Linked DNA regions of Homo sapiens: regions 1 and 2 are each linked to region 3. Evidence: promoter capture Hi-C in 16 types of primary human blood cells and fetal thymus (Javierre and others, 2016). All regions are on one chromosome and are shown on one strand. Each heading gives the region's core, a stretch centred on a gene start or on the middle of the fragment in contact. The rest is flanking DNA. Distances are from core to core; before and after follow the strand shown.

Region 1 (2,938 bases), core at 74-2,573, 820 kb after region 3:
TCCTAGTCTCTCTGTGCCTCCCTTTCTTCACCAGTGAAATGGGGATCATAGCAGAGCCAACTTCACAGAGTGGTTGCGAGGAGTGGATGAGCTGATAGGTGCAGAGCACTTAGAATAGGGCCTGGTGTGGAGTAAATGCTCCACAGAGCTAGCCGTGTTGGCTGTCACCCACTCATGTGGCCAGCCTGTTGGTCTACCTCTTAGTTGCCATGTAACAGGATTCTGGTGCTTTTCCTTTGCCCAGGTCAGATGGAACCCAGGACCCATCCAACTTGGCTGCTTCACATTTTCATCCCCTTCTGCATCATTGCTTTCATTTTCATAGCCACAGTGATAGCCCTAAGAAAACAACTCTGTCAAAAGCTGTATTCTTCAAAAGGTAAGTGAGTTTTATTCATGGTAACCCAATGCACTGGGTGTCTGCAGCATGAGCCACTGCTTTGCACTGCAGGCCTATGGCTTGCTGCTTTCATGCTAAACCCACTCAGAGCTTATGAACCACTTTGAGCTTGTCTTGATGATTATTTTTCCCCAGAAGAAAATGGCTCTCATCGTCAGTGAGCTGAACTTCTTACACTGAGTTTTTTAAAGGGAATGTTTTGTTCTTATGTCTGAAAGAGTTTGTCTTATTCTTTGAGCCAAGAGCTTTCATCAGCCTCATGAGAGTGATGTTATTTTGGCAATGCAGAGAGCTACGTGCTCCGATTTTGCTGGTGGGAGGTTGCCAGGATCCTTTCTGAGGATTCCTTCCATTTTCACCCCTCTTTTCCCCAGTCTGGATATGACCTGGGTTAAACCCACCCCCTCTCCCAGGAATCTCAACCTCACGGTTGGGTAAGGAAAGGAGAAAGGTTTGTGAGGCCATTTGGGGATAAGGAAACAGCTGGTTGGTGGTGCATTAACGTCTTTCAGCAGCTCCCTTCGAGTTTCTCCTTAGCCTGTTGTATTCTTACCAACACACTCCTGTTCTGTTGTACCAGCTGGGACAGAGCATGCTGAAGCCTTTCAGCCCTGATTTCATTGCTTCATTGTTCATGTGTCTGTCTTTGGTTTCCTGGGTGGAGCCTGCCCACAAAACCCCCAGAATGTATGCAGGCCTAGCTGGTGCTTTCCTAAACGGCTCCCTTGTCTGCACTCAATGAACTTCTCCAAAGATCTATACATGGCCTCATCTATAGAAAGAGAAATGACATGTGGAAATAATTCAGTAGGAGTTTGCAGCAGCACTATCTGAGGACTAGGGGAATTTTAAGTGGTTGTTATCTTACATTTATACTCATAACTTCTATATTTTCATCTGCCATAAAATATTGTCATGTTCTATTTGTCCATTGCCCTATGTGTGTATGTATTCACTTGGGTGCTGACCACAATATTTCTAACTGTAGAATGCAAGGAATTGTTGCCAAAAGAAAAAGACAGAGGGAGGGAAGAAGATGGCCAGGGGAGTGAGGGAGAAAGAGAAAACAGGAGATGGAGAAGAAGAAAGATAGAAAGAAAAATAAATGTGGGAGGGAAGGGAGCTTCATGGTAAAGGAGGAGGTATGTCCAACAGAACTTCGACTTTTAAATAGAACCACTTCAGAGAGTTGTGTCAGGTGCACCTCAGTTGTCTTATCTTCTGCCATTCTTCTTTTACCTCTCACACCCATACCTCAGGGTTCAAGGCCTGGGGCCTGAGGACTCCTTAATAACTTCAGAAATGAGCAGCTGAGTGTTCCGTTCCAGCTGTCTTTGGGAGAATGGAATGGAGTCACACTCAAAGATAGAGTGGAAATAAATCCTCTCCTCATCCTTCACCCCAATCTTAAGAGTGAGTGAGGATATCAGTAGCTCCGAGCTGGGAGGTAAAGCTCAAGTTCTAACTGTGATTAGGAGACCTTTCTTACAAATAAGAATTAAGTGAATAAATGTGCAAACAATTTCTTTTATATTTTTAATGAACCAGAGAGAAATCATGGTTGCCTATATAACCCTTGTCTCCAACTCACTTGCATTCAGATCTGCTTTCTTACATGTGTCTGCCATGCACACAAACTTGTGTGCCATGGAAAAGGGTTGAGAACTGCTGGTGATGCAGACAGAGCTTTAAACCAGGGTCAGAGGGCTAGGCTGGGACCTTGTGCTGCCATTTGTTGGCTTTCTGACCTTGTACAAATTGCCTATCTTCTTTGAGATGGTCTTTCTATCTGTAAAAGGGGAAGCAGCAAGAGAAGGAACATTTTACAGCTTATTGGCCGAACTTCACTGCCGCTAGTGTGGTTCAACTTGGACTACAGAGAAATCTTCCTAACTGGTTTCCCTGTATTCACTCCTGCTACCTCCAACTTGGTCTGTTCTCACTTTTTGCTATAATAGGCTTTTAAAAATCATAAATCTACCATGTGTCCTCTGTCCAGACCTTCTCCATGGCTTCTTATTGCTCACTGGATGAAGTTCCAACGAGCCCAGGATGGTTTGACTCATGTCTCCAGCTTTAACTGCATCACCATCACCTTCATTGTCTAAAGCTCTAACCACACAGGATTTTCTAGTCCTCAGAGGCATGGCAGTCTTTCAATTCCGAGTTTTCTCATACAATATTGTCTCTTCTTAAAATATTTTTTCTTGTTGTCCACCTGAGTTGGAGTCATCTTTTAAATCTCAGCTAAGCTTATACTTCATCAAGTCTTTCCTAATTCTACCTCCACGCACCACACCCATTACATTAAATCCCCTTATTATATGTTTCCATAGCACCTACTTCTTCTTTCAGTATACTCAGCACACAATCACATGTCTAGGATCTGTTTTAATAGCTTGGACTACCAATTAAATTGCATCCCTTTTAATTTTCCAATTGATTCCTCAAGTACCCACATGCCCATCTTAGCAAGAAGTTCAGTGTCTCCCTCTTATAGCATGTACTTCTCCACCTCCCACAAACTGCCAGAAAGCT
Region 2 (3,230 bases), core at 205-2,704, 840 kb after region 3:
GTCAGTGGGATCATTCATGCATTTGCAGTCAGTTGGCAGTTTGGCTGCCAGATGGCTGGTCTCAGATGGCTTCATTCATATCTTCCTATTGGTGCTGGCTGTTGGTAAAACCACGTATCTTCAGTAGGTTAGTCCAGGCATCTTCAACATAGAGTCTAATCCAAAAACAGCAAAAAAGAAAGAAAACCCCAATGTGCAAGTGCTTTCCAAGTCTCTGTTTGTATCACATTTGCTAATAATGTTCCATTATCCAAAGCAAGCACATAACCATGCCAAAAATCAATGTGTAAAGGAATTACATGAAGGCGTGATACCACTACTGTAATCATCTACAACATTAAGTCCAAAACTATCTGGAAAGTGTAGTATATCAGGACTACCTTAATTTGGCCCCAGTTCAATGTTATCTTCTGTGCTCCTGGGTCTAATACCTTTAGAATTCATCCCCATACATACTAGCCTGGTTTCCTCTAATGTTAAGTTAACAAAATCTTATGATTCTTTTGAAGTATAAGACTTTTCCTGCTGAGCTAGACTCTGCTCTTCCCACCTCCGTATATTCCGGGAACTGACTCTAAATAAAGGCCATGAGAGTTGGGAGCACTGGGGCTGAGAAAGAATAGGGATCTCCCTTGCAAGGCAAGTGCCTCATATGGGCTTATTACAGGCTTTCAAACAAGGAAAGGCTAATATCATTAGACAAGAAATGAGAGGCTTCTTCCACTATCAAGGGAAACTCAGGGATGCTTGGGGGTTTCAACATTCTCAGTTTCATCCAAATCCACCAAAATGTCCCCATTCCTAGTCTCAGAGTCCTACTCCTTTCAAATTACTGAGAAAACTTTCACATATGAGACTTAGCCAGTCTGTGAATGATTGATTTGGGTTGAATTTTTCAGTCATGTCTTTCATGTCTAGTGATTCCTGTAATTAGAAGGAATAAGAGGTACTTTCAGGGCAGTCTTAGAAGCCCTCTGGTGCTCTGAATATGATTTGAGGTGAAAGCCCTAAACTTGTTAGTTTCTTCCTGTAAGCACCCTGGTGCAATCAGAAGCAGCCATCCCACATTACATTCCTTATAATCATCTTTACTACCATAATGGTTAAATGCAACAGCTACTTGGCCTCCAGAAACTTGCCTTTCATTGGTATTCAACCCTAGCAAGAACAGATGATAATTTAATCAACCATGATGTCAATGCATGCCATAGATTACTAGTGGCAAAGAGTTCAGCTCTCAATTCAAACCAATCCAACACTAACAACAAATCAAATCAATCCCAGAATGTCAGAATTTGAGAATCTGTTTCCTATGACCACACCTAGTATCAAGTGCTAGTATCAGCCAGAGTCCAGTCATAAAAATAGAGTGTATTTAATATTAGGAACTTGTAATAAAGATATAAGAAGACTGAAAGAGCAAAAAAGTGGATGCCAAATATTAGAACTACAGACAGCAGCTACCTTTCTACTACCTATTGCTACAGGCATGACACATTCAGGAACTAGAAACAGGAAATAATTCCCCCTCCCACCTTCCAGTCCCCAAGGCCTTCCCATTTACTGAACTTAACAGGAAGCTAGCTGGCAAGGGAGGCTGGCAAATGAAGTTTGTCAAAATTCCAGCCCTGGCACATCAGAGCAGAGGAGAGGAGGATGGACTTAGAGTTGAGAACAGGAGGTACATAACCAACTCACTCCTCAATCAAAATCTATCTGGATGAAGTGGAGACATATCCATTAAGAGATAAAAAATAAAGAGACTATAAATTCCAATTAGATTGTAGCACAAGGAATTGTCTTAAACTCTGTGGCATCTGACCCTGTAACAAGGGCCCAATGTATATTTGTTGATTGGTTTTATGAGAAAAATAAAAATTGGGCATCTGCTTTGACCATGAGCATAGGACAAAATAAACTTATTTATTTATTTATTTATTTATTTATTTATTTATTTATTTATTTATTTTTGAGACGGAGTCTCACTCTGTCGCCCAGGCTGGAGTGCAGTGGCAAGATCTCGGCTCACTACTAGCTCCGCCTCCCAGGTTCATGCCATTCTCCCGCCTCAGCCTCCCAAGTAGCTAGGACTACAGGTGTGCGCCGCCATGCCCGGCTAATTTTTTGTATTTTTAGTAGAGACGGGGTTTCACCGTGTTAGCCAGGATGGTCTCAATCTCCTGACCTCGTGATCTGCCCACCTCAGCCTCCCAAAGTGCTGGGATTACAGGCGTGAGCCACCGCACCCGGGCCTTTAAGTACATTTTGTAGAAGTTGTATCAAAATTCATTGGCTGCAAATGAGAGAAAACCTGATGCAAACTGGCTTAAATTTTTAAAAGATAATGTGTTGGCTTATGTAACTGAGCAGCCAAATGTGCAACTGGGTATAGGGGGTCTAACAAATGTCTTCAGGATTCAAATTGTCTCTATCATTTCTTCACTCTGTTTCCTTTTTGTTGATGCCATTCTCAGACAAGATATCTCCTCATAATTACAAGATGGATGCCAATGATTATTAAACCTTTCAGATTCAAATATTTTACAAGAAAAAAAAGCCAGAGTATTTTTCTCAGCATTCTCAGCAAAATCCTGAGATTTACAGTGGAAAACTTATGTGCTGTGCCCTCTCCAGAACCAGTCACTGAAAGAAAGAGTATGTAAGTGATATCTTACATCTGGAGCTCCACCCAGACCACATGAACTGAAAGTGGAGAGTGAATCAAAGTGACATCTTTTGTGCTAAGATGTTGCAATTGCCCAAATGCATCTGTGGACTTCTACTAGAAGGTATAGCAGAAGGTGTTAGGTGTCTATTATAAGAAAAATATCACTATCATATAACACCCCTGGGGGACATATTTCTAAATTTCAGACAAAATATATTTTCAGTGCGTTGTCTTTCCTGATAATGTATTTACAGCCTGTCATGGGATATGTCTGTTTTAAAGTGCTGGGCAGGGTTTGGACTACATGTTCCTCCTTGTGCTGGGTTTGAAACATTAGATTGCCAATGTCTCATTGCTGGTATCCAAAATGAGGTTTAATTAAGTTTGCCATTATAGCTAATCTCCATACCATGCACCAGACATTGCTCTAATAGCTTCACATGTATGATCTCATTTAAACTTCATAACTTAGTGTATTGTCTTGTCTATTTTACACGTGTATTAGTCCGTTCTTGCATTGCTATAAAGAACTACCTAAGACTGGGTAATTTATAAAGAAAAG
Region 3 (2,500 bases), core at 1-2,500:
TTTCTAGAAGGAAAACTCTGTTCCCCTCCGAAGAATGGGACTGAGGTAGGGAACGAAAGAGGGCGTTGTTTTTTATGCTATGCACGTCTATCCTGTTTGCTATCCTTACAAAAAAAAAAAAAAAAAGAAGGAAAACAAAAGAAAAAGGCCTTGTGGAAGCATTATTTCTATGTAAATGGGTTTCAAAATGAGTTTCAAAACGGGTTCTATTTTGAAAAGTAAGGTCAACATTTTTTGAGAAAAAAACTCCTGCGATTGGCTTTTCAAAAACAACCCTCTTAAGAGAGAATTTACATACCACAAATTCACCCATTGTATAGTGTAGATTGTTAACTGCCTTTCGTGCCGAGCTGTAAGAATTTATTTGGCATGAGAAACAAAATATTTTATAGAACCATGCACAAGAATAGCCTTCGTGTCTACGAAATCTAAGGATATCAAAATGAGATAATTTTATGACTGCAACAAGGGTAAATAATACTTGGCCTTGGGAATATGGGGGAAAGGTCAGAACTACAAGATCTCATAGAGCTTAACCACACCAAAAAAGAAAGAGAAAAGAAAGAAACAAAGAAAACAAAACAGAACGAGCAGACTCTAGCAGGGCTAATGACAGTCTTCCAAAGGCACCAGCACGTTGAACAAGCTGCGGCTCAGCTCGATGGACCCCCAAGAGTGGCTGCCACTGGGAGGACTTGGGCCTCTGAAACAAAGCCCGGTGGTTTCCTTTCATCTCTGAACTTCGAGCTCGACCTAACTTTCCAGTCCCTTCCCCCACCGCCACCCCATAACCCGCCCGAAGCGGCCCACGGAGGCCGGAGGTTTTGGGGCGCAGTCGCTCAGCAGCCCGAGGTCTCTGTCCCGGGCGGCGGGAGGGAAATGCCGCGCCCGCAGCCAGGGACCCGCGTGCCCAGCTTCGGCCCCTCGCCCGCGAAGTCCGACCCGGGTGACAGCGCACGGCCGGCCCTGGGCCCAGAGCTCCCACCTGTGCCCCGCAGCATGTTGTCCCGGAGCAGGTCCCCGCTGGAGAGGTGCTTCAGCTCGAAGTGTGTAGTGATGCGCGACGACACGGTGCCCTTGCCCGAGCCCGGGGCCCCCATGATCACCGCTCGCAGCAGCCGCGCGGACGCCCCCATGGCCGCAGACTGAGGCCCGCACCGCGCGGGTACCAGGGCTTTGGCCTGGCCTGCGCGCTCACCCGCTCGGCAGCCTGCGCCGGCCGGCTAGCAGCGCCACTAGCAGGCGGCTACTGCGGTTCCCCGGCGTTCCCGGAAGTGAGCCGACAGCCCCTGGGGCCGCCCAGACAGCGCGGGACCCCGCTGTTGCGTCCGCCTCTCGGCTACCCCGGCGCACCCCCCGCCCCCGACCGAGCGCCTGTTCCCGCCCAGCCGCGCAAGCCGCGCAAGCCGCGCCCCCTCTGCGCTCGCTCGGCCGCCCAGCTCCCACCTGCGCCTCTCCGCGGCCCCTCTCCACCGGCCGCTGGGCCCGGATCCCTTCGGCGCCCCTCTGCACCCACCCCCACGCGCCCTCCACTCGGCTCAGATCTACCTCCGCGCCTCTCCGCGACCCCGGAACCCCGCGCCCTGTCCGGCCCATTCCCAGCCGGATAGACCGCGCTCCCCTCTGTCCGACCTTGGCAACTCCTGCGCGCCCCCTCCCCACCTCTAGTCGCCCCTCGGAGCCGCTTGGTTTCGGGATCCACCCGCATCCACCCCTCCAACAACCCTTTCGTAGCCCTCGCCCCTAGTCCATAGCAGGCGCTGCCCTACCCAGTCCTTGCCGGACACACCGCGACCCCTTTCGTGCTCCCTTGACAACCCTGGCCCCACCTCCACCTGGCGCCCACTCGAATCCGCCCCTCCCTTCTACCCCCCTGGACCGCCAGACCCCCCGCTTCTGCACCCACTCCCGCCTTCGCCCTTCCCTCCTTCCTCCTCCTCCTCTGCTGCCGAGCGCCCTCTCTTCCCACTCCCTCTCTGTGTAGAATCACAGGGAGTGACCTTGAGCCGAGAGGGCCTACCTCATTTTACAGGAGAGGAAATCCAGCTTCCATTGAGTGAGACTCTTTTATAAATAACGTAAAAGAGTGTGTGAAACTGTGGAGGCAGGCTGTTGTAGATAGGCGGTCGGAAAAGCTTTGAAGAGATGGCATGTGTGCTGAGTGCTTAATTAGAATATGGAAGAGAGAGACATGGGCCCTTCCTATGTCCAGTTTTAGGAAAAGGCCCTAAAACTGGAGGTTTGGCATGTTTCAAGAATGGAAACAGAGGACAAAAACGTTCGAGTGAGTATCATTTTGCCTGTAAAATGGGCATAGAGGAGTAGAATGGAGGAGTTAAAATAATGTAGTACTTAGTGCAATGCCAGCTACGGGGTCAATGTTCAATAATGGTTGTCCATTTATCATCATTGCTTTGTCCCGGACACTATGCTAAGGCAGAAAGAAGGCTCTCTGAAAATAAAACACAGTTACCATTCTCCTCAGAGGTCCAGAACTGAT

What was found. The method cuts DNA at HindIII sites, captures the fragments that hold promoters and counts their contacts. A CHiCAGO score of 5 or more calls a contact.
Region 1: a fragment that was not itself captured here is called in contact with the fragment with the promoter of AK3 in region 3 in 1 of 17 cell types (neutrophils); the score reaches 5.1 in neutrophils.
Region 2: a contact is called between a fragment that was not itself captured here and the fragment with the promoter of AK3 in region 3, in 1 of 17 cell types (neutrophils). The highest score is 5.3, in neutrophils.

The regions. Positions count from the first base shown.
Region 1 is chr9:5,557,374-5,560,311 of GRCh38, forward strand. It overlaps PDCD1LG2 (programmed cell death 1 ligand 2), which reads left to right. Exons shown (of 7, transcript NM_025239.4): 5 at 245-379. The region is part of intron 1 of INCR1 (interferon stimulated noncoding RNA 1); the gene reads right to left. Among named protein-coding and RNA genes, the nearest start is that of PDCD1LG2, 48 kb to the left of the region's middle. The HindIII fragment of the contact is 2,654 bases long and covers 1-2,650 here.
Region 2 is chr9:5,577,357-5,580,586 of GRCh38, forward strand. The region is part of intron 1 of INCR1 (interferon stimulated noncoding RNA 1); the gene reads right to left. Among named protein-coding and RNA genes, the nearest start is that of RIC1, 50 kb to the right of the region's middle. The HindIII fragment of the contact is 7,807 bases long and covers 1-3,230 here.
Region 3 is chr9:4,739,952-4,742,451 of GRCh38, forward strand. AK3 (adenylate kinase 3) reads right to left here and starts at 1,251. Exons shown (of 5, transcript NM_016282.4): 1 at 986-1,251. The coding sequence starts at 1,136. RefSeq lists silencers at 781-920, 1,151-1,640. The HindIII fragment of the contact is 10,519 bases long and covers 1-2,133 here.